Linked DNA regions of Homo sapiens: region 1 is linked to region 2. The links are contacts of gene promoters, found by promoter capture Hi-C in blood cells and fetal thymus (Javierre and others, 2016). All regions are on one chromosome and are shown on one strand. The core of a region is centred on a gene start or on the middle of the fragment in contact, and the rest is flanking DNA. Distances in the headings are between cores, read along the strand shown.

Region 1 (2,700 bases), core at 17-2,516, 670 kb before region 2:
TCTGGGCATGTGTTAAAAACAATGACAGTAAATAATGTTTTGAGGCTATGCAAAGATACTGTTTTTCCTTAAAAGTTCAGGGGAACTAGTTCTCTCTGAAGCCAAGAATTGCCTTGGACAAGAGGTCAAGTTATAATGACTAAATACTTGCCCTTTTTATTTATGCTTTACTGCAGATCTATCTGTATTATAAATGGTGCTATTCTTGTGTCATTGACCCTTCTGTCAATTTCTTTGAAGAATGGAAGCGTTTATGTTAACTGAATGGGGTTAATGAGGGTACGTTTGTAAAACAAGGTGAAACATCAATAATTGATTTTAATTTCTTCCTCATTAATCAGTTACAAAAAGCTTATTTTATCTTTTGTCATTTGTTGGTTACCAAGAAGCCATATATATGTGTGTGTGTGTATGTGTGTGTATATATATGTATATATATATATACACACACATACACACACGTGTGTATATATACACACACACATACACACACACACACACACACACACACACACAGAGTATGGACATATATGTATATGGTTAGCTATATCCCAAGTGATTTATATATCCACGTCTAAAATCCGTTGCTCAGAAAAACCTGCCTTAATGTTGTGCTTCTTGTGCAAGAGACAGTCATGGTCCATGCAGTTAAGAGGTGCAGTCTTTCAAAAATTATCCCAACAGGAGTTGATGGGTAGGAAGGAGGCATGTCCCAGTGATCCAACAGTCATCCCAGGACATGCTAACCATTTGACTGATCTCCCTCAGAAGTTGGGATAATTCTAAGGTAGCCTTTGTTGCTTTAGGGGTGTTGTCCAGATGGGCTGGTCCAGAGAGAGAGAGAGAATGTGGTTGATGTGTTTTTCGATTCATAAGGGGAAAACATCATGGGGAAAGCATCATGGTATTTGGATGTACAACATAACTACATTCTTTACTGCTGTTCTTGGAAATGCCATAACCTAAACAAATTCTTGTTTCCATTACTAAATTCAAAAATTTTGAGTCAGTGCAGTGGTAGATATGGGTAAACATTTATAGCATTTAAAAAAAATTGTAAAATCTTAAAAAAGGATCAAGATTTGGCAGTGCTGAGTTAATAGCAGTCAATCAAATTGAATTTGACCATTGGGACTGAGATTTGGCCTCTTAACCATATGTTATTGCTTTGCTCCAGAAAATATTTTAGTAGTATTATCAGAAATACTTCCATTTATTTTTTTCCTTTTTTAATTTTTATTTTTGGCAGAGCATAGCATTTGGTAATTCTTGGGGTCATTACTAGGGTTTGGATTGGGATGGGAGAGGGTGTGATCTTATAGGAATTTGAAATTGAGAAGGCAGCACTGCTGAAAAATGCATTAGGGCCAACCTCTGAATTAGATTGGCTTAATTTGTTGGGGGCAGAGCTGCAGATGCAGCTCTACATCTGCAGAGATGTAGGTGTTAACAAATGTGTTAAAATAACTCTTATTTAGTGCTGGGTGTGGTGGTTCATGCCTGTAATCCCAGCACTTTGGGAGGCTGAGGCGGGTGGATCATCTGAGGTCAGGAGTTCAAGACCAGCCTGGCCAGTGTGGTGAAATCTTGTCTCTACTAATAAAAAAAAAAAGAAAAAATACAAAAATTAGCAGGGCATGGTGGCATGTACCTGTAGTCCCAGCTACTAGGGAGGCTGAGGCAGGAGGATTGCTTGAACTTGGGAGGTGGAGGTTGCAGTGAGCTGAGGTTGGAGTGAGCCAAGATCGCGCCACTGCACTCCAGCCTGGGCAACAGAGTGAGACTCCGTTTCAAAAACAAAAAAACAAAACTTGTTTATAGAGTACCTGGCTAGATATTTGGTATTTTGTATACATTTTGTTTAAATTCAAAATAGCCCTTCAGTGTTAGTATTAGACAATTTTATAGATGAGATAAATTAAGCTCAAAGAAGTTAGGTAACAAGGATCACATAACTAGTGTGTAATGGAACTGCAGTGTGAATTCCTTTCAATCTGATTCCAAAACCCATGACTATTCTTTATATTGCACTCTCGCCCCCTGTGGTATGCATACAGTTGGCTATGCAGCAGTAGGCCCTTTTGGTGTATTGTATAGAAAATGAGCCATTTCATTGTTTGGGAAACTTGTGTTTCCTCCCCTTCCCCCCATTTTTAGTATCTGTTAAAAGAAGAAAGCTTTTGGCTACTTAAAAAAACTTGGTTATGTTTAGTTTGGTGCCTTTTGATCTGGTCATGACAATGGGAGCAATACTCTTATGCTTGCTACTTGTTTCATTTAAACTGAAAAGTCCGGAAAAAATATATTAGTACGCAGGAGTGCTAACTTGCAAATGAGTTTTTCTTGACTGCTAATAACTCAAGCAAAAAGATAATTATGTGTTATAAACTGTGCATGCGGAAAGTGAAATGAAATTCATCCGCTTCATATTTTTTAGGAAAATTGATAAGGCATCGCTGTTAATATTTTTCACATTACCTTTTGGATTTCTTAATTCAGATATTTTCTCTCCACAATTTTGAGAGAAAATTAAGAGGGGTTGCTGTCCAAAACTGGGGAGTCTTGGAATCAAGTTGTGATTGTATGTTTATATAAAAACTCAGTGTGACCTCAGCAAGTCACAGCATTTTTTCAATTTGATGATCTCTATTTTAAAGTGAGAAAGTTTTTACTTGCAGAGTGTTTCTGAATCCTATGTTA
Region 2 (2,700 bases), core at 173-2,672:
ATACCCCCCCCAAATAAGACCCAAGTCCCAGCTTTGACAAAAGAACCATGTTTGGAAGAGAAACTGAAGTAAATTGGAAGGAAGCGCTTCAACAGGAGGAGAGTGGTTCAAAAGATGGACAAGAGGTAAGTTGTGATCTTCGAAGACCAGGTCATGGAGAAGGGGGCACCCTTAAAGGGAAGTGAGAGAGGGAAAGAAAGAATTTCATTCTAATTCCTGAGAGCAAGGCAGCGCATATAAAATTACCTAAGATTTACAGAGCGATTTGCCGTTTACAAAACATTATGACATTCACGATAACGTTTAATCCTTATCACCCTGAAACGCTGGTTACATTTTATTTTACACATGAGGAAACTGAGGCTGAGTAGGGCGGATTATGCGACTTGCTCAAGGTCACTTGGCTGAAGTCAGCGCTAGGATGCATCCCCAATGCCCCCACCCCTCCGGGTGGCCGTCCACCCTGAAAGTCTTTGTATTATCTCCTACAGGGCAAGGCTGGTGTGGCTGCAACAGACTTCGCCCCCTCACCCCCAAATCTGGGACGGAGCAGCGCCCTCAGGTGTCAAGGAGGGGACCTGAGTGACGCGGAGCCACTGACTGGGGTTTCCCTGTCCTGCGGGGCTCGCGGGAGCCAGGAGCAGAAGCCACAGCTCTCGAACACACGACAGGCAGTCAGTCAAGTCAGGCTCCAGCAGCAGTTGCCGGCGTGGGGCTTAACACGAGAGGGGCAGCGCTGGGTGAATTCCCCTCCGAGCGATCCCAGGGCTAGGACCAAGCGCCTGCGCCCGCTTCTCCGACCCGGCTCCCCACACTCCCCCCTGCCCCGCTGGCTCCTTCCCGGAGGTTCCCCTGTGCGTGGGGGCGCCCTGGAAGAGGAATGGGGCTGGGGTGGAGTATGGAGGTGTCAGAGGGCCGACCCCGGGGCGAGGGCTTCCAACGCCGATCTTATGGGTCAGGACAACCGCGAACAAACCCCGGCTGAAGTTTGGGCATCAAGGGTTTCAGACCAAGTAGCAAGTTGCCTGGAGAGCGAGCGGTCCTAGGTGGAGGGCCTGGGGCAGGGGTGGCGGTAGGGGAACAAGGGAGAGGCAGGAGATGGTGCCCCTTCCCACGCAGCCCCTCGCGGCCCCGCGGGTAGGTGGCCGGTCCGCCTCTGCAGCCCGCGGGTGCGGAGAAAGCGCCCGGCACCGGGCACCCGGCACCGCGGCGCAGCGCAGCCAGCCCCTCCTCGCCGCGCTCCGCGCTCCTCCCCACCTGCCCACGGCCTCGCCCCCGCCGCGGAGACTCACAGTCCTCAGAAACTGGATCTCGTCCTCGCCTCCTTCTCCCCCTTCGGCCATGGCTCCCGAGGCGTCGGCGGTGCCCCAGCCTCCGGCGCCTCTGCTTCCCCCGGCAGCCGCTCGGCGTGCGCTGACTGCTGCTGCGCTCTTTCTCCTCCTCCTTTTCGTCCTCGTCCTCCACCTCCTCCTCCAGCTCCTGGCTCAGCCTCAGCCTCAGCAGCGCCAAGCTAATCCCCGACCATATAGGGAGCTGGGCTAACACTCCACTGCACTGCAGAGCGCCAACGCCAACCAAGCAGTCCGCCCACCCCTCTCGCCTCTCGCCCCAGCCAAGTGCGCTGCGGCCGCCCGCTCCGTGGAGAGCGCAACGCTGGGCGCGTCGAGCTGGCGGGGGCGGTGCGGGGGCCCTGGGCTGGCGCGGTGGAGCCTCCCCCGCACCGCTGGGTACCGCACCGCACACTCAGCGGAGGCGCGCGCCCCGCGGCGACCGGAGGATGTCCCCTAAACTGCTCCAATTCACAAACAAAGGCCAGTTGCTTAGCTCCAGCGCGCCCAGACTGGGTACCAACCCTCTCGCTTTGCTCGCTTTGCCCGCTTTGCCCACTTTGCCTGTGTGTGTGTGTGTGTGTGTGTGTGTGTGTGTGTGTGTGTGACAGAGATAGAGAGAGAGAGAGAGGAAAGAGAGAGACAGAGACAGAGAGAGAGAGAGAGGAAAGAGAGAGACAGAGACAGAGAGACAGAGAGAGGAAAGAGAGAGAGACAGAGACAGAGAGAGAGAGAGAGAGAGAGAGAGAGATCTGGACTCGAATACCTTGCTAGGACCCGCGTGCATTGTTGGGCAAGGAGAAGACGGTGCAGTGAGGAGCGAGGGTGATTGTCCACTTACAACAAAGTTTGCAACTCCCTGGATAGTCCTTTCTACACCTTAAGAGAACCCCTTCCCCTCTTCAAAATTGGTAAGTACACTTTACCAAACCCCTGGATTGTCCAGGGTTGCTGTGACTTCTGTACCCCAGGGAGCTTCTGGGGGATCCTGTGCCACCCTCAATTTGGAAGTCAGGTGGCATCACAACCCTTCCTCTCTGCCCACCCCTAACCTTATTCTGCATTTAGAGTTCCAGCCCTGTGGACTCTAAAGGGAGTAGAGAGTAGTTACAGGAGGCTCCCTTCCAGGTCCTGGAAGGCTCCTACATCCCACCCAGCCTTAGGTCCTTTTCCATGGTTGGGGATTGCCAGATTGGTCCTTGCCTTGACTGACGGTGCAGGGTGCCCCCTTCTGTTTGATGGCCGAGAAGCTCCAAGGCAAGAGACTGTTCAAGGCAAAAGGCACCAGAGATGTAGATTTAGGAGGAAGTGCAACTGGGAAGGTGGTAATTCTGGGCTGATGATGGTGGAAGACACTGGAAACCCCAAGCCA

The links. The method cuts DNA at HindIII sites, captures the fragments that hold promoters and counts their contacts. A CHiCAGO score of 5 or more calls a contact.
Region 1: a fragment that was not itself captured here is called in contact with the fragment with the promoter of RYR3 in region 2 in 1 of 17 cell types (megakaryocytes); the score reaches 7.9 in megakaryocytes.

The regions. Positions count from the first base shown.
Region 1 is chr15:33,980,945-33,983,644 of GRCh38, reverse strand. The region is part of intron 2 of AVEN (apoptosis and caspase activation inhibitor); the gene reads left to right. All of the region lies in intron 1 of CHRM5 (cholinergic receptor muscarinic 5), which reads right to left. Among named protein-coding and RNA genes, the nearest start is that of CHRM5, 14 kb to the right of the region's middle. The HindIII fragment of the contact is 1,826 bases long and covers 354-2,179 here.
Region 2 is chr15:33,309,689-33,312,388 of GRCh38, reverse strand. RYR3 (ryanodine receptor 3) reads right to left here and starts at 1,422. Exons shown (of 104, transcript NM_001036.6): 1 at 1,293-1,422. The coding sequence starts at 1,343. RYR3-DT (RYR3 divergent transcript) reads left to right here and starts at 1,730. Exons shown (of 3, transcript NR_120327.1): 1 at 1,730-1,811. RefSeq lists enhancers at 180-689, 690-1,201. The HindIII fragment of the contact is 6,631 bases long and covers 1-2,700 here.